6 separate regions of the Homo sapiens genome follow, and all the other regions are linked to region 3. Evidence: promoter capture Hi-C in 16 types of primary human blood cells and fetal thymus (Javierre and others, 2016). All regions are on one chromosome and are shown on one strand. The core of a region is centred on a gene start or on the middle of the fragment in contact, and the rest is flanking DNA. Distances in the headings are between cores, read along the strand shown.

The links. The method cuts DNA at HindIII sites, captures the fragments that hold promoters and counts their contacts. A CHiCAGO score of 5 or more calls a contact.
Region 1: a contact is called between a fragment that was not itself captured here and the fragment with the promoter of FAM168B in region 3, in 1 of 17 cell types (total CD4 T cells). The highest score is 5.3, in total CD4 T cells.
Region 2: a contact is called between the fragment with the promoter of NMI here and the fragment with the promoter of FAM168B in region 3, in 1 of 17 cell types (fetal thymus). The highest score is 5.1, in fetal thymus.
Region 4: the fragment with the promoter of MRPL19 here is called in contact with the fragment with the promoter of FAM168B in region 3 in 6 of 17 cell types (total CD8 T cells, non-activated CD4 T cells, naive CD4 T cells and 3 more); the score reaches 20.4 in total CD8 T cells.
Region 5: the fragment with the promoter of REV1 here is called in contact with the fragment with the promoter of FAM168B in region 3 in 2 of 17 cell types (monocytes and neutrophils); the score reaches 7.4 in monocytes.
Region 6: a fragment that was not itself captured here is called in contact with the fragment with the promoter of FAM168B in region 3 in 3 of 17 cell types (total B cells, total CD4 T cells and non-activated CD4 T cells); the score reaches 5.4 in total B cells.

Annotation. Positions count from the first base shown.
Region 1 is chr2:95,073,152-95,076,288 of GRCh38, forward strand. All of the region lies in intron 1 of LOC124907857 (a long non-coding RNA gene), which reads right to left. LOC105373488 (a long non-coding RNA gene) reads left to right here and starts at 1,739. Exons shown (of 3, transcript XR_923076.3): 1 at 1,739-2,010; 2 at 2,593-2,765; 3 at 2,963-3,102. The HindIII fragment of the contact is 3,474 bases long and covers 1-3,137 here.
Region 2 is chr2:151,288,239-151,291,297 of GRCh38, forward strand. It overlaps NMI (N-myc and STAT interactor), which reads right to left and starts at 1,430. Exons shown (of 8, transcript NM_004688.3): 1 at 1,355-1,430. RefSeq lists enhancers at 1-148, 949-998, 1,019-1,068, 1,459-1,538, 1,599-2,018 and a silencer at 1,199-1,398. The HindIII fragment of the contact is 4,870 bases long and covers 1-3,059 here.
Region 3 is chr2:131,091,755-131,094,835 of GRCh38, forward strand. It overlaps FAM168B (family with sequence similarity 168 member B), which reads right to left and starts at 1,706. Exons shown (of 7, transcript NM_001009993.4): 1 at 1,460-1,706. RefSeq lists a silencer at 1,160-1,879. The HindIII fragment of the contact is 2,381 bases long and covers 776-3,081 here.
Region 4 is chr2:75,645,206-75,648,065 of GRCh38, forward strand. It overlaps MRPL19 (mitochondrial ribosomal protein L19), which reads left to right and starts at 1,578. Exons shown (of 6, transcript NM_014763.4): 1 at 1,578-1,705; 2 at 1,897-2,014. The coding sequence starts at 1,603. RefSeq lists enhancers at 1,378-1,672, 1,508-1,807. The HindIII fragment of the contact is 2,636 bases long and covers 1,390-2,860 here.
Region 5 is chr2:99,488,187-99,491,301 of GRCh38, forward strand. It overlaps REV1 (REV1 DNA directed polymerase), which reads right to left and starts at 1,831. Exons shown (of 23, transcript NM_016316.4): 1 at 1,631-1,831. RefSeq lists silencers at 1,306-1,385, 1,456-1,555, 1,666-2,335 and an enhancer at 1,769-2,654. The HindIII fragment of the contact is 11,070 bases long and covers 1-3,115 here.
Region 6 is chr2:152,714,162-152,717,074 of GRCh38, forward strand. It overlaps PRPF40A (pre-mRNA processing factor 40A), which reads right to left. Exons shown (of 26, transcript NM_001365597.4): 2 at 1,834-1,965. Among named protein-coding and RNA genes, the nearest start is that of PRPF40A, 1.8 kb to the right of the region's middle. The HindIII fragment of the contact is 1,151 bases long and covers 913-2,063 here.

The DNA.
Region 1 (3,137 bases), core at 171-2,670, about 36 Mb before region 3:
GCAGCCTTGAACTCTTGGGCTCAAGCATCCTCCTGCCTCAGCCTCCTAAGTATCTGGGACTACAGGTGCATGCCACCATGCCCAGCTAATTTTAATTTTTTGTAGAGACACGGTCTCCCTATGTTGCCCAGGCTGGTCACAAACTCCTGGCTTTAAGCAGTCTCCCTGCCTCAGCCTCTGAAAACGCTGGGATTCCAGGGGTAAGCCACTGCATCTGGCGAGAAATCTGCATTTTTAAAGAGCTTTTTCAGAAGGTTCATTTATGGTCAGCCAGGTTTGAAAACCACTGACTGAGAAGGTACTGGAAGGTTCTGGCCTCAGCCTCATCATCATTGAGATCAAAGGGTTCCTGGAAGGTCTCAGAGATGGCATGGTCACCATGCTAATTCTAGCCCAAGTGGAGCAGGAATGTGTGTGTCTGGGTGCACACTGCTGAGTCCAGCTCTCACTGGGAACTCAAGGGGACCCTAAACCTGTGGCTTCCATCCTGAGGGCTCTGGGAACTAGCTTTGTGCATTCATAAGCAGTCCAAGCCCCTTATACCCTCCAGTGTTGTTTTCCAAAATGTATACCTGTGCTCATGGTGCCTACGTTAAAAACACCGCTAACCTCAGAGCAGCTTTTTACAAACTTATATCTCCATCGACAGTTACTAGAAGTGTACCTACTATTAACATGCGTATTGGGTAGAGGACCAATGTGCAAATTTAAAATATATGTATATTAAACAGAGCTCTTCAAGCATGGACAGGCTGGGAAGTCCTGGGGAGAGGGCCTCCCTGAAGCCAGTGGCTGCCTCTGAGTTAATGAGCAGCTGGGTGGCTGCTGCCCTGACCGCTGGGCAGGCAGTCACCCCACTCCCACCCCACTCGGGTGACAGCTGGCCCGGGGGCAGTCCAGGACTTGAGTCATCCCAGTCTGTGACAGGGAGGGCAACGTTAGAGAGGAGGGCCTGGGACAGAGTGAGCCTTTTGACCATGGAACTGCCTGGGGTGAGGGTGAGGGCACCGTGGCTGCCATCCTAGTGAAGCCCCACCCCACCCGATACTTCAGGCTGACTCTTAGATTCTTAGAAGAGTTCTCAGCCTGCCCAACATTGAGTGGAAGGGTTTGGGTGTTAATGGCCTCAAAGGCTTCTGTCAGGCCCACAAAGACACCATGAACAAGCCCTCAATACCTGGCCAACCGCATGGCTGACCCCATTGTCCTTCCCTAGGCGTGGGCAGGGGCTATGGAGGGTGATCTGGCCAGCGTCTGATTCATAGGCGCAAATCAAAACGGCCACTGAAGCCCACGTGGCTTCCTGCGGGCAGGAAAGGAGATTTCACTCCTGCGCAGCCCAAGGACACAAGAAGCCCTGGCCATATGGCCATCTGGAGAGGAGAGCACACCGGACACCTGAGGCTGTGTGAGGTGAAGGCCAGCAGTGTCCGAATGCTCTCAGATGCCCCTGTGCTCAACAGCACGATCCCCAGTCCCCAGGCGCCCAGCTGGGAAATTCTGCTTGGTCTGTGGTAAATGCCCTTTCTGAGAAGCAACCATGACCTTCTCAAGAATACTTCAGAGGCACTTTTGCTCCTTCTCCACTAACCGACATCCTGTTTTGCTGGAACACATGGGGCAGAGCGCACACAGCTTTGTTCCTGCACCCGCCCTCAGAGCTTTGCCACCTGTTTTCAGGCTGCCTCTGCCTCCAAACCCTGCGGAGCCCTCCCTGCCCCGTGCTTTGAAGCAGTTTCTTTGGAAGCTGCTGCACAGGGGTTAACAACAAGCAACAACTCAGGTCGCATTCTTGTCAACGGAAGGGAGGGCCAGGTGGAACCGCCAAGGGGGCCATTTCTGGCTTTGCTGGAGGCTGTCAGCTTCTGGTGGGAGCCACAGCCTGAGGGCAGCCAGGATGGCTCTGCTGGGAGGGACACCCTGCCCAACCCTGGGAGCAGGTGACGAAGGCTCCTGGAGGCATGGTCACATCCCTGGGTCCCAGAGGCAGGAACAAAGCCCCCAGGGCAGGTGGGTGAAGGCTGCTGGGGGTCGGAGGGGAAGCCTTGCTGCCCAGGAGCTCAGGCCGGGCTGAAAAGGGCAATGCCACAGAACCCCTGGAAGGAGCAGGACAGCAGACAGTGTTCCAGATGAGACTGCAGAGGGCCGGGGAGCCAAGTACCAAGGGGACGTCAGGAGGGGCCATGAGGCCTCCTCTGAAAGCCACTGTGGCACCAGCATTTGCGAAGGGCCTGAATGACTCCTCTTTTAATGGACAGGCATCCAAGGGCTTCCGGAGAGCCACAGAAAACCTGGCGTGGAGGTTGCTGCTTGCCTTCTAGGAATGATCTTGGATGTGCTGGTGGCAATTCCCCCTCCCTTTGGTGATCCCCCTCACATCTGCCCCAAGCGACTTCTCCAGGGCCAGCCTTAGGAGGCAGAGAGATCCCGCTCTGGACTGCTGTCCCAGGCCCTGAGGGTGCCATGGGTTACATGTGTGTTTACATGAGTCTATGAGTTGAATCCCCATAAGCCTGGGGGAAGCACCATGTCTGAAGCAGCAGCTGCATTTGTAAGATGAAGATCTGAGCCAGTTTTTCATTATATCTGCAGTGTTCATCAAGAAAGGGCCTCCGGGTTTGTGTTTACTGGACATGAATTGAGCTGCTCTCCAGAGATAAGAAAAAAATATTACAGCCCTGCTATGTGGGCACCCCACGGCAGCCCCCGGGGTTAAGGGGCAGCTTTCTTTCCAAGGAATCCCATTGCCAAAGATGAACCTTCAGGTAAGGGCTCAGAGCTGCTTGCTTGGGCAGATACTTCCAGCAGGGTTCCCAGGGATGTGAGTCCATCTCCCCACAGAGGAATCTGTGCTCAGGCGCTGTGCCCAGGGAATATCAAGATCTGCACCCTGGAAACCTAAGGCTGTAGCCTCAGCCCCAGTTAAGGATCATGCGGTCTGGTCTGTCCCTTTGTTTTACAGATGGGGAAACTGAGGACCCAGAGGAAGCAAGAGCAGCCCCAGGCCACACAACCCTCTTTTTATTATTCATTCACTGACTACACTGCAGAGGTTGGACCCATATCTCATTATTTGAATAGTAAATTGTTTTTTCTTCCTGACCCTTGGTCTGTTGGGTCTCTCATTGCGCCATGCA
Region 2 (3,059 bases), core at 180-2,679, about 20 Mb after region 3:
GCTTTTAAATATGGAGAGCATCCTGGATTATCTGTGGGAGCCCAGTGTAATCATGAGGCTACTTAAAAGTGAAAGCGGAAGACAGAAGAAGAGTCAAGAGTGAAATGTGACCCCGGAAGAACTTTCAGAGGCGCAATGTTGCTGGCCCTGAAGATGGAGGAAGGGCTGCTGAGCCAAATAAGGTAGGTGGCCTCCGGAAGATGGAAAGAGGATTCACCCCAAGAGCTTCCAGAAAGGAAGGCAACCCTGCCAACACTTTGATTTTAACCCAGTGAGACCTCAGTAGGACTGCTACAGAATCCTAAGATAGTAAATTGTGTATGTGAGTGTGTGTGTGTGTGTGTGTGTGCGCGCGCGCGCGCGTTCCTATGTGTTTAAGCCACTAAAGCCATGTAATTTGTTATGGCAGCGAATTAAAAAAACTGATACAAATCAACATCACCGTATTTCCGTAATACAATCATATAACTGCGGTGCCAGGCCGTGTAGAATCGAATCTTCCTATATGCATGCGTGGCAGCAAAAAGAAAGGCAATAGAACGTCTGCCTGTTGTACAGACTGGAAACACAGTATTCTCCTTCGGATGTCTCCTTCAAGAAAAACCTTGCCTATTCTGACACGCCAGCCATGACTGCACAACACTGCCCCTACCAAGAATCGTTTTCTTAAGAAATCCGTTTTCCTAAGGACTATCTCCAGAGACACTCGGAGAAAACAGCGAGGGCCGGGCGCGGTGGCTCACGCCTGTAATCCCAGCACTTTGGGAGGCCGAGGCGTGCGGATCACGAGGTCAGGAGATCGTATCCATCCTGGTTAACACGGTGAAACCCCGTCTCTACTAAAAATACAAAAAAAAAAATTAGCCAGGCGTGGTGGCGGGCGCCTGTAGTCCCAGCTACTCTACTCGGGAGGCTGAGGCTGGAGAATGGCGTGAACCCGGGAGGCGGAGCTTGCAGTGAGCCGAGATCGCGCCACTGCACTCCAGCCTGAGCGACAGAGCGAGACTCCGTCTCAAAAAAAAAAAAAAAAAAAAAAAAGAGAGAAAACAGCGAGGAAACACAAATAACTTTATGTTTCAATTTCCTCAATGAAGCAAAGCAAACAAGTGACAAGGCTCGAAGCCCTGACGGCCCAGAGACTGCACAGCGGGCCCAGGAGCAGGTGCGCCCCCTCGAAGGCGGCGTGGCCTCCGCGACTCGGCTGCGGGCAGCTCCCGGGGAGCAGGGTCTCAACTCCGGCGCTGTCCCACTTCCGTCGGCGCTGAGGGCTCCCACCTCCCTTTCCACCCCCGGCTCTCCAGCCCGGGACTGCCAGCGGCGGGAGTGGCAGCCGGGGAAGGGACTCCCCACTCACCCGCGTCCGCCCGCCGAGCGCAGCTCCCCAAGGCCCAGCGCGCCTGCCCTTCCCGGAAAACAGCAGCGCCTGAAACGCCGGAACCCCGGGAGGCACTGGGAGGGGAAGGCCCGGGTTCTCGAAACTGTCGCTGCCTCCTGCAGAAGCGCCGCGGGAGAGCTGCGGGGTCTTCCTGAGGAGGTGGCCCTCGCAGGAACAGCTGGGTTCCCCGCGAAAAGAAAAAGACAGTGAAAAAGAAAACTGCTTTAACGGCGATTTTTCTTTAGCATTTAACCAATGCTCAAATACTAAACATGGTTGTCTCCAATGATTAGTCACTAACAGAAAAAAAAACTAATTTCACTTTCGATTTTTAAAAAGGGGTGGTTTTGCGGAGGAAAGCAGAAGTATACCTGAAGTTTCCGTACACACTAATTTTAGGGAACGCTTTCTAAAACCAGTTTTTTGCATGTATTTTATAAGGTATGTTGGAAAAGTGGATAGAAACCAAATAAAGTCAAAGCAGGAATCGCTCTTCATCAGATTGTAACTCTTTTGTAATTTCTTAGTCATTGTAACACTAGTTGACAAATGTTTACAGTCAGCACAAGATCGGCGTTTCTGTGTCTTTTGTAACATCCCCCGGGGCCATGAAGTTGGGAAAGCTGTGGTGTTCCTGTTGGTTTCTGTGACCCATGTCCCTTGAAAGTTTTCTTATAATCTCTTGTTTTGTTGTGGAGCTTGTAAATAAATACTTCACTAGGTGTGAACTTTTCCTTTGAAAATTCAAACATCTGGTTTATTTCAAGAACTGCAGTGTCTCTTAATCCCACACAAAGAACCACCCCACAGCTGCCCCGGCTCATAAATACAGATGTGGGAAGAAAATGAGTCAAAATTATTTCAAGGCATAAATTATAGGTTATCATGCTACCTAGTCACATATAATAACTGATACAGTGGTCTAAAATAGTTTAACAAAAGTAAAATTTCTTTGTATCAAAAAGGTTGATGGGAACCAGTTTAAAGTGGTGACATTTCTCTTTTTTTTTTTTTTTTTTGAGATGAGTCTTGCTCTGTTGCCCAGTCTCCAACTCCTGAGCTCAAGCAGTCCTTCCACCTCCACTCCCAAGTAGCTGGGATTACAGGAATTCACGACCGCACCCAGATTTTTTGTACTTTTAATTTGGGTGCTGGGGGCAGGTATCTAACTGTTTCCCAGGCTGATCTTGAGCTCTGGCCCAAGTGATCCCACCACCTCAGCCTCCTGTAAAATGGCATTTCTAAGTAAAAAAAACGACTTCTTTGTGCTTATCAGACCAGTTAGAAAATACAAAAACTCCTTCTGCTGCAACTTGAGAAAGAATTACTTTAGTTTTACCTTGAAATTTTAGAGGGAATATGAACTCTCGAGGTTATTTAGTTGAACCTCATTTCTTCTTATTTTTATTTTTTACAAGAAGATACTAAAGGACAGGACCATGGCCAGAACAGGACTAACTTAATATATTGACTCAGATTCTGTTTAAAAGGCAAATGATACAGGTGGAGGGGAAGTCTTTTTGGACACCTACATTCTAAAGCTGAGACATGTACTAACAGTCTGAATTTAACTCAGCTTCAAATCTGGTATTCTGCAAAGTGTTAGAGATCTGAAGATGAAGAGTTGGCTCCTGGACATACTATTAATAATTGTAATTGCTAACATCTACTAAGAACTCCTGGA
Region 3 (3,081 bases), core at 456-2,955:
AGTACAATCAGACAGACTTAACAGACTGGACACAAGGCATGAAAAAACTATTACTCTATTACGCTGGTGTACTGTTCTTTTAAAATTGTGCTCGGCCAGGCGCGGTGGCTCACGTCTGTAATCCCAGCACTTTGGAAGGTCGAGGCGGGCGGATCACGAGGTCAGGAGATTGGGACCATCCTGGCTAACACGGTGAAACCTCGTCTCTACTAAAAAAAAAAAAAAACAAATACAAAAAAATTAGCCAGGCGTGGTGGCGGGCGCCTGCAGTCCCAGCTACTTGGGAGGCTGAGGCAAAAGACTGACGTGAATCCGGGAGGCGGAGCTTGCAGTGAGCCGAGATGGCGCCACTGCACTCCAGTCTGGGAAACAGAGGGAGACTCCGTCTCAAAAAAAAAAAAAAAAGTGCTCAATTGATCCAGGAAAAGAAACTGTCTAAGACAACTTGGGTATAATTTCCCTTTAAACTACGGAACTCCACCAAAGTAAGCCTGCTTTGTAAAGACAAAGAGAAGCAAGATCTTCACAATTTCTGCAACACTAGCTTCAAAATTAGAATAGCCTTACACTGCTCAAATCTTGGCTGTCAAAGCAAAAATAACCCACTCCTTCATCTACAAGAGCTTAAAAATGTGTCCTGTTTTTGCCAAAACCAAAAAGTTTTATTTAATCTAGAATCTTTCATCCATAGTATTTGAGAAAAGTGATCTCAAATTACACAAGGATGACCTGAAAGTTTAAGGAGTGGAAACTATATAAACCTTTTTATTTATAAAGCTTCCTTGCATGCGAAAACACTGCAAAATATTCTTGTTTGACTTTAATGATTAAACATTAACTCAAACAGCCCATGAGATGCACACTTCATGTTCACATACACTATAAAACAGAAATACCCTTATTTGTGGACGTCGTAAAGGCGCACTGCACTCTTTTTTCAAAGTTAACCCAGGCTAGGCCACGAAACGTCCTTTCTGAAGGAAATCTTAAAAATCTGTAATTTAAATCGTGCCTTTTCAAGCTGGAAGGAGAACGCTCAGATTCCGCCAAGCAAAAAAATAAAAATAAAAATTATCTTTACTTCGTGGGTAGACAAAGTGAGCAGTTACACATTGGAAATGACTATTGTCACAAAGCTCTGCCCCCGGGTTTCACGCTCGCATTCCTGACGGCTGTGACCCCGACCTTTAGGAGAACGCCCCGCGCCGCGAAGCCACCTCGGCCACCTAGGCGGCAGGCCCGCGCCGCCCGGACCGCACCTGCACGCGTACGTGTCCGGCCGAGCTCCGCCCCCGGCCCCCGCCCGGCCTTGCCCGCGGCACAAAGCGCAGCCCAGGCCGGTCCAGACGCCCAGCGACCCCGAGCCGCGGGCCGACCTTGGCGCCGCCCCGAGCCGGCCGCACAAAGCGCCGCACTTCCGGCCTGGACGCGCAGTCGCCCGCTGCCCGCCCCCACTCACCGCGCCGCGGCGGCGACCTGGGCCTCAGTGACCAGCGCACGCCGGCCCGCGGCGGGCTTGGCCGTGGGGCGAAACAAGGGGGGCGTGCCGAGGAGACCTGCTACGATAAGAGGCTGACCCTCCGAGCCCCGCGTCTCCGCCGCCTCCCGGACGCCGCGCTCCCGCTCGCTCGGCTCCGCTTGGCCCGGCCCGCCTCTCCGCAGCCCGCGCTCCCCGCCGACGCTGCGCAGCCACCGGAGCCGCCGACCTCACTTCCGCCTGAGCGCGCCGCGACGGGGGCGCGCCGGGCACGTGACTGCGCAGCGTGCTCGCTCCCGCCGGCGCCCTCGAGACGCCCGGATGGACGAGCGCGAGCGCGAGCGCGGAGTGGGCCGGTCCCAGTTGGCGAAAGGGCCGGGTGTAGCTGTAGTTTTTTTATTAACTGTCTGTGAAAAAAGTATTTAATTTATATTTTGAGATAGTCCCGCGCCGCAGAAACCTTTGTGTGTGCCCAGACGCCAGGGCGCGGATCCTCAGGCCGCACCCGGGAGTCGAGCACACCCCGGGTGACCGCCACTACGGGGTCGGAGCGGGGCGGAGCTCAGCTCACAGATTCTTTGCCAGTGCGGAGGCTGCGGGCGCCCGCTCAGGAGTGCAGATTTTAGAGAATGCAAGTCAGCGTTTCAAGTGTAGAAGTGCGGGATCATTTCTATAGACAAGAGTTCAGGGAAGTGTACTAGAATGTTAGGGGGTTTTTTGGTTTTTTTTTGAGACGGAGTTTCGCTCTTGTCACCCAGGCTGGAGTACAATGGCGCGATCTTGGCTCACTGCAACCTCCGCTTCCCGGGTTCAAGCGATTCTCCTGCCTCAGCCTCCTGAGTAATTGAGATTCCAGGCGCCCGCCACCACACCTGGCTAATTTTTGTGTTAGTAGAGACGGGGGTTTCACCATGTTGGTCAGGCTAGTCTCGAACCCGTGACCTCAGGTGATCCACCCACGTTGGCCTCCCAAAGTGCTGGGATTACAAGTGTGAGCCACCGCACCCGGCCAAATGTTAGTATTTTTATGTAAGGCTTAGTGTATAGTTACAATGATTTGGTTAGTTCAGGGTGTCTCTCTGGGGGAGGTATGTTTATTATTTCGTATTAAAGAGGTGCGTGTCTTGGTGTTTGTGTTTGGGGTGTCGTCTGGTCTGAGCTAGGTACAGGACGACAAAGGAGGGAGTTATTGCAATAAAGATTAGTGATGGAAGGGAGGAGGCCTGGCTCTGGTCTTTTTTCAGTCGTTTATGAAATAAAAACAGATGGGCGCGGTGTCTCACGCCTTTAATCCCGGCACTTATAGGAGGCCGAGGCGGGCAGATCACGAGGTCAGGAGTTCAAGACCAGCCTGGCCAACATAGTGAAACCGCGTCTCTACTAAAAATACAAAAATTAGCTGCGCGTGGTGGCGCACATCTGTAACCTTAGCTGCTCTGGAGGCTGAGGCAGGAGAATCTCTTGAACCCGGGAGGCGGAGGTTGCAGTGAGCCGAGATCGGGCCACTGCACTCCAGCCTGGGCGACAGAGGAAGACTCCGTCTCAAAAAAAAAAATAAAAATAAAATATAAATGTGATAAAAGGACAAGAAGAAAACATGGGGA
Region 4 (2,860 bases), core at 328-2,827, about 55 Mb before region 3:
ATGAGAAAGTATATGGATTCCTGAGATATTTGACGGTGTCAGGCATAGTTTTTGGAACTTCATCCAGGAGGAGACAGGGAGGAATCAAGAATGGCACTGAGATTTTTGGCTTAGGCAAGAGAGTGGATGCTGAAGCCATTCCTTGAGATAGCCAATACTGGGAAGGAAGTCTGGAGCTGAAAAAGATGAACTCAGTATGGATAGGCTGAATTTGAGGTAGCTTTGGGACATTAATGCAACTGGAATGACTATTATGTAGTTAAATTATCACATTACTCTAAGTGTTCAATCCTTATATAACCACTGCTGAAATAACAAATTCCAAATTTCTTTTTTTGTGTGTGTTTCTTTTTCTGTTTTTTTGAGACGGAGTTTCGCTCTTGTTGCAATGGCGCGATCTCGGCTCACTGCAACCTCTGTCTCCCAGGTTCAAGCGATTCTCCTGCCTTAGCCTCCCAAGTAGCTGGGATTACAGGAGCCTGCCACCACACCTGGATCATTTTTTTTATTTTTGGTAGAAACGGGGTTTCACTATGTTGGCCAGGCTAGTCTCAAACTCCTGACCTCAGGCGATCTGCCCGCCTCGGCCTCCCAAAATGCTGGGGTTAAAGGCGTGAGCCACTGCGCCCGGCTGTGTGTTTGTTTCTTAGAGATACGGTCTCACTATATTGCCCAGGCTGGTTTCCAACTCATGAGCTCAAGGGACCCTCCTGTCTCGGCCTCCCACAGTGCTGGGATTACAGGCATGCCTGGCCACGCCCAGTCATTTTCCAAATTTCTTAACAAGACTTACAATTTACCTTTTCCAGCTTTACTTCTCCCACCTATCCATACCCACAGTTGCCCAGCCCAAATTCATTTGGGTTCCTCAAAGGGTTAATGCTTTGTGTAGTCTCAAGGACTATGGGCCAGCAGTTCTGTCAGGAACTATTCTATTCTCTTTTCTGTGCATTCAGCAAAGAATTAGAAAAATTAGCTGGGCGTGATGGTGCGAGACTGTAGTCTTGGCTACTCGGGAGGCTGAGGTGAGAGGATCTCCTGACATCAGGAGTTGGAGGCTGCAGAGCCATGATCGCGCCACTGCACTCCAGCCTGGGTAACAGAGGAAGACCTTGTCTCAACAAAACAAAAGATGTTAGTGAGGGCCCAGGTAGGTGCTAGGTGCTGGGATAACATGGTGAGCAAAAAGAAGACTTTATCCCTTCCCTTGCCTCATTATAGTATAATGGCAGATTTAAATACTAATCTAATAATTACACAAGAAAGAATTGCAAATGAGATCAGAGCTGCCAATCGAAGGCACCCAGTGGGAAAGACGGCCTACAATGGGATTTTCGCATAGCGAAAGCTTGTCTGAGAAGATAGAGTGGATTCATAGGGGGAGGAAAAAGCTTTCTAGGCTGGGAGAACACCCCTGTGGAGGGGTGTAACTTGGCGCATTACGAGGAACTAGAGAAACGTGCACTTTTCCTAAGACATCAGGAAAGGAGCGAGGAGAGACTTATCCATTTTGTCCCATAGCAGCCGCCATATGGTGGCAGACAGCAACAACCTCGTCGCACTGATTACTGGGAGCTGTAGTCTTGACGTGAGCTAGCTGGCATGGCGGCCTGCATTGCAGCGGGGCACTGGGCTGCAATGGGCCTAGGCCGGAGTTTCCAAGCCGCCAGGACTCTGCTCCCCCCGCCGGCCTCTATCGCCTGCAGTAAGTGGAGCCGGACTTGCGAGCTGGGGCGCGTTAGGGGCCCAGGGTCAGGATGGGGGAGGCGAACCTGGAGATCAGAGGCAACCCCAGCGTTGGTCCCCCGTGGGACGCCGGGTTGGGGGAGATTGCGGGGCTCTGCGGGATCTCAGGGTTGGCACGAGAGTTCTGACCTCCGTCGTCCGCTCCCGCAGGGGTCCACGCGGGGCCTGTCCGGCAGCAGAGCACTGGGCCTTCCGAGCCCGGTGCGTTCCAACCGCCGCCGAAACCGGTCATCGTGGACAAGCACCGCCCCGTGGAACCGGAACGCAGGTGAGGCACTGCCCTGGCGCTAGGCCGGCAACTGGGGTCGGTGCGCGCGTGAGCGCGTTCGCGTTCGAGGTCCCGGCTCTAAGGTGGGGGCTGCACCTCCCCCTGCACGAGCAGGTGTGTAGGATTCAAGAGCCAGCGCACCACACTGTTCTTTCTTTCTCACTTCTCCCCAAGCCAGCATTGAACTTCTTTGCAGTTTTATTGAGTCAGAACTTCAAGTAGGGGTTCCCCATATTTTAAACTCTTTTCTCTGTGGTATTTGTCCTGTACCAGAGTTTTTCTCTGAGGTATATCCTGTTTATACCTGTTTACGTCCAAGAGCTCTTCTTTTCTCTCAAAAGACCCTTAACCCTGGATAGGAATCGATTGGCCAACTTAAAAAATTTGCTATGGTTTAGGTTGGAAGTTTTGGCAGACAAAGCACAGTAAAACTGGCCACTAAATTGTGTCTGAAACTTACTCATCAAAATAGTGTGAATAAAAACTTATATGAATGGTGGTAATCTTGGAGGTACATGTAAATTTAAAGGACTTAAGGTCTGAAAAGAGAGCTATGTAGCAACCTTTTTAAAAAGCCAGTTTTCAGAGGAAAAACCTGATATGATTATAGGCTTTTTGAAAGGGCTGTAGATTATTGATTGGATTACTTCTGGGATTTTTAATTTTTTTATTTTTTAAATTTTTTTTAGACAGAGTCTCTCTCAGTCTCCCAGGCTGGAGTGCAGTGGTGATTTTAGCTCACTGCAGCCTCAAATTTCTGGGCTCAAGTGATCCTCCCGCCTCAGGCTCCAGAGTAGCTGGAACTACTGGTACCACGCCTGGCTTTTTTTTTTCTTTTCTTTTTTT
Region 5 (3,115 bases), core at 581-3,080, about 32 Mb before region 3:
GACCAGTTTGTTGCTGGTGAGGACAACGTTTCCTTAATGCTCTTATGTAGAATCAGAGTTTTGAAGTTGCGAGTGGGAAGTTGGAAATGTAGTGATCTTATATATTCAAGCACATTATTTTTTAAAAATTATGTTCTACTTGAGACCTCATAGAAATTAATTTTAAAAGAGCAATTCCCATCTTTACAAAAAAAATTAAATATGTACGGTTTACCGTAAAATAGCGGTTAAGGTTCTACAACAAAAGATAGGAGTTTGGTACAGACTCTACCCTCAAAAGGTCCTACACAGTAAGAGAAGACAGGGCTAAAAAGATAAACGCAACACAGGAAAAGGCGCAAATAGCCTAAGAATTGAATGGAAGAGAGCCTTGTATACTGGAGAATGATTCCTGGAAGAGGAACTTTAGGTGAGCTCTTAAGTGTCCAGTACAGGAAGGCAGGGAACAATACGCAGCACTGGTCCCTGCACGGGCAAACCCAAGAATATGTGTGAAAGGTTGGTGGACAGATAGATGGTTCCCACAGGCTGATTTGCTACATACAGAACTCCATAGAAAGAACCAAGGTTATGGTTGGTCCTACCCTACCTAAACAGGAAATGGCTTATTCTCGGAGACTAAAGTGCCAAGTCCGGAAAGACCAGACAGATACACAGAATTACAGACTGTTACATAAAGTCCTTAATAGTTACAAGCCCTTGTTGTGCTATGTGCTAGTCTGCATTATTTTCACCTAAATGAAACCATTTCTACTTAGTACATGGCGTGAGAAGACGTGGAGATAAAGAGAATTAGCAGACGTATATTATCTGCAATTTATCTTACGGAGGAGTACATTAAGGAGTGTTATGTGAGATTATTTCTTTACAAACTGAGAATAGGTAGGAAGAGCAGCGAAACACAGCGCGGCTCGGTGCGCCCAGAGCGGCGTCACTGTAACAGTACAGAAGTGGGCAAGGGGCTCTCGGAAGGACAGTTGGGGAACGGCGCCCAGCGTATTTAGCGAACGGACAAGCAGCAAGGAAAAACAAGGGAGCAACAACCGCCTTCGGACATTCCGACCGGTTCTGGGATGCACCGGGGACGTCGAAGGCGGGGTGCGGAAAAACGCTGTGGCTGGAGTGCGGGTGGGAGCGGCGGCTCGACCGGGTCGACATTCTACAAACGCTTGTGGAACGAACGCCCGAACGCGCGCGTGAATGAATGGCGCGGAACTGAATGGCCGGCCGAGGCGCCGGCGCAGGAGGAAGGAGTTTGCGGCGCGGTCTGACCGGGCCGGCGGGATGCGGCCGGGCGCGGAGGGAAGGGCCGCTGCGCCAGGGGTCGGCGCGGGGCGGCCCATGGGGCTGGCGGCGGCGCGGGGCCGGCCGCGCCATGACGGAAGGGAAGGGGAGGGGAGGTCACACATTACATAACCCGGCGGCTGCGAGCGTCAGGGGAAGGCGCCGTGGACAGCCCAGGCCGCGACAGGACGGCCGCGGGCCGGGGCCGGGGCGACGCACCCCTCCCCCGCGCCACCTCAGGCCGACCGCGCTCTGGCCGCTGCCGGGCGGGTCTGCGGCGCCTCCGGGCGACGCGTGTCCGATCCCGCCCCTCCCCCACCCCGCCGCCGGCCCGGGGGTCGCTCACCTTCCGCGTTGCCCCAGACCACCATGCCCGGGCCCGGCGGCCTTCTCCGGCCTTGCGGACCCCGGCCCCGCCGCCGCCAGTGCCCTCGCCAGGGACCAGGGAGGAGGGCCGGGGGAAGGCAGCCCCACCGCTGAGCAGCGCCGCGGTCCACGCTCCCCCACGCTCGCGGCAACCAACCCCGCGCGCGCTCCGCGGTGGCTCTCCGCCCCTCCCCCTCCGGTTAGCGCGCGCGCCGCAGCCACGCCCCCTAGCGTTCCGCGCGCGCTCCCCGGCCCCGCTCGCGCTCACAGCCGCGCGGCGCACGCGCTCTGCTCCCCCCGGCCCGGGGCGACCCCAGCCTCGGGCGTAGCACCGCGGCGCCCGGCGTCGGCCTCCGTGTTCCTCCCCTCCCCGGCCCCGCCCTGTTGTTCTGCAGCCGCCCGCAAGGGGCAGCGCCTGGGCGGCACGTGACCGTCTCGCTAGCTGGGCGGAGGGGAGCGCAGCGCGGGCCCGCCCACGCACTGCGCCGCCTGCCCGCCCGTCCTGCTCCGGTCACCCCCGCGCTTCGTTGACCGGGTCGCGGCTCTTCGGTTGCCATTCGGACAGCGCGCCGCTCCGTGCACAGCGAGTCCCCGCGCCTGCCCCGCCTTGGGGCTCCCCAGTGGGGAAGGACACAAGTGCAGACACTGACCGGGCTTCAAACCCCGGTACTGTGTGAAGATGCGCCAGACGCCCGGGTTCCCTCCTTAAGCAATTGATTTACAGTGACATCTAGTGGAGAAAGGGACACACATGAACTGACATTTTCCTATGTCCAGAGCAACCGAGAACCACGGCCCACTCAGGTTCGCGGGAAGGAGCACTGCGCCACGGCGTTTTCGGGATTCGTGGCCTGCTCCCGCAGGGCACAGACACTATCTTCTGTCCTTTGAGTGCCCGGGCAGCATTGCGCCTGAGTATTTGTAAACGGAGGGCCGGTATCCCATCCCATGTACAGCGCTGGAGTTACCCGAGAAAGCAGTTTTCTATGAATATAAAAATAATATCCTATATTATGTATGCGTAAGTACAATTCTAATTGAGGGCCTTCTAGCAGAAAACAATCCGTCCATAAGGACCACTTTCTCCCTCTTGGCAGGGTCGCTTTGAAGACTCCACATTGTTACATAATAGTCTTTATTGTTGTAATGCACAAACATGAAGATACTTTTTTCCCACTCATTCCCTTGCCTAAAATGCTTCAGAGTTTGCAGGTACTTAGGAAACAATCAGTATTCTTTTGAAAACTGATTTGCAGAGTTGGAACTTGTTTACTAGCAACACAGAGAATACTCAAATAGCTCATTTCTTTCCCTTTCAGTTTTTTGCCATTTTATAGACTTCTATAAATGCACTTCAACTTCAGTATTCTCGTCGCTAATCCAACGAATTTAGATTGCATACTTTTCAAAGACGTCATAATTTAAAACAAATTGCGTAATTGCTTTCTTTTCTTTTCTTTTCTTT
Region 6 (2,913 bases), core at 238-2,737, about 22 Mb after region 3:
ACATTTATTTATTATACTAACAGGAGCCTTCAGAGGGAGAAGAATTCTAAACATCTAAATAATTAGGTCTACTTAAAGGCACGTGGCATATATTAGCCTAGGAAAAAGTAGAAGAAAACCACACCAAAAAAATCAGTTATTTGAATGGATGTGTACCGAGTAGCAAGTAAACTTACTAGAAAGATGGTCACTGATACAGCTAAAGAGAAAGGGCCATAAAGCAAACTGTGACCAGCTTATGTCAATGAGATACATGAAAGTACTTTTAAAAAATAAAATCTGCATTTTTTTTTTTAACTAGAACTATGACTAGCTGGTATCTTGGTTTTGGTAGTGCAATAGCACCATTACAGCAAGGGTAAGCAGGTCAATCCCTTGCAAAACTTACCTTGATTGGCCCAATGGAAACAGAAGGCCCCAGAAAAGAGAGAAGCATCTGGCAGTAGCAAATTGTTTTATTTTATCTTTCTGTGGAAAGAAACTAATTTTAAATAAGAACCAGAGCATTTAAAGAATAAATATTTTTAAAGCTCATTATCTAGTTAGAGCAGCTCTACCAAGAAAACAAGAAGAGCTCCTTGCTCCTTAGAGATGGAAAGAAACAGAAGAGGAATCAAAGTTGTTTCTCCATCACCTAGAGAGTTTTAAAATTTGTGTTATTCTAGAGTAACAGAATAAAAGGCTCTTTTATTTAAAGAACTCCTGCAAGCAGAATCTTTTGGGGCTGGTGCCTTTGAATAAAGGTTTTGTTTTGTTTTTTAACAAAATTAAGGGCAATATTCCAAATTAAAAAAAAAAAGAGGAAAATCACTGGACATTAAGCCCTTCTACTCTTAAGGTTAAGTAAAAAGAGACAGACACATAGCAAGCTCCTTTTCCCACTGCAATTTCACCAATAACTTTAACCATGAAAGCTTAAACAATTATCAAACAGTACTAATTAGCAAAAGATCACATGAAATTGGCTTCCAAAATATTTTGTTAGCCTAAATTTTTGATGATTTATGGAAATACTCAAATGGAAATAACCCAGCCACCTAAAGATCTATTATAGAACTTAACATGAAGCACAAAATTACTCATGGTAACTGAACCTGTTACCTTTCTTGGATGCTTCTCTAGAAACTCAGTTCTACCGAAATCACTGAATCAGCATTAAAACCTTTTGATCCAAATCACTCCTACAAAATGTCCATTTACAATTTATGCTAGAGATGGAAGGGACAGCTCATAAGCAGGAGTGTAGAAGCAACAAGCATTAAAAAAAAATAGTATAAGTGGAAAATGAACTACCTATTGGCACTGTCCTATGAAGAATCAGAATTATAGAGCACAAACTCCCCACCCTCCCTCACCCTCCTCCAACACACAAAGAGGAAGATATTTCAGGAATAAAATTCGCTCTAAACCAAAACAATAGCTATTTTCAGATTCTATTTATTTACATGGTCTACCAAAATCAGTTATGTTGCTGTATCAGATAATATTTACTTAGACCATCAACTTCAATTGGCATTCTTGAAAAAATAATCATTAAAAATAAAAGCCTGGATCCACACTTTACTTTTAAATAATAAAGAAAAAAATTCTTAGTTTTGAGGTCATCAGTAAATTTCTCAGAAGACTTTTTCATTATTTAAATTTCTCAGAAGACTTTTCCATTATTCAAATTTCCGTTACAGTCATGATTTAACATTTGGCTTATTTGAAATTATTCGGGCATAAACTAATCATTAAACAGCTATAACTACTGACCTAGATTCTGAAATCTTGATAGAATACCTGAGGCAAAAACAAATAAATAAATGCAAAATAAAACAAAAACAGTCTTACTTGTCCCATTGGTGGCCCTCCCATAGGGGGCATCATCTGCGGCATCATTCCATGAGGTACAGGAGGCATATTCGCTCTCTGACCCATAGGGTGCATTCCCATTGGGGCATAATGCATGCCAGGGTGCCCCATCTGAAAAACAGTGAACATTTTTAAATGAGCAAATAATACTAAATGCTTCTCAAAAATCTCATTTCAACAGATCAGTTATCTGAAGCGACATAATATTAAGCTTATGTGTAATAACATCATTGGATTAGTCTATACCTTGTTTCAAACAAAACGCATTCTGCTAGTATTTAAAACGAGCTTGCAAATTCCGTAAAAAAATGGGAAAAGTTAAGATGAATCCTGGACCGCTGGATCATAGGTTTTCTCTCTCTTTTTTTTAAGCACTGACTTAACCAGCTACTAATTGGCTTGCTAAGCTTGGAGGATACACATTGAATACTAATTTTAAAACTGTTATGGTGAAAACAACAACTCTCCTATTTCATGCAGATATAAAAGATAGCCAGCTATTGTTATTTTATAACACTACTGATTTTAAACTTTAAAATGCTCTATCCAATTAACTCAGGTGAGAGTCGGTCTTACAAAACACAAACAGTATGGCTACCCAGGCACAATTCACTCCTAACAAACTTATTTCCTAACATAACCTTTAAGACAGGTAAAATTCCTTCTGCCAAAAATACATTTTCAAAGACTGAGGTTCTGTCACTCACGGACACTAAATGCAAACAACTAATTCATCCTTTTTAACGCAGTTTAAAAAGACAACTACTTTCTTTACCGATGAGTCCATTGTTCTATGTTTTAAATTAAAACCACCTAATTATCTCCTGCCAATTGTCCCAACAGTTCCCCCTGCAGACCACCCCGACGACTAATGAAAACAAATTTTGGCAGCCGCTGTTAAAGTCTTACAGTATCAAGCCCCTGCCTCCCCCTCCCAGCTAAAATCGGGCCTAAAGCTCCAAGACGCTCACCCCGCCCAAGAGCCAGCACCTTCACCACGCATCTGTCTAGGCCAAGCCCACGGGGAACTTCCAGGGTCTCACATCCTTCTCTTTGTGC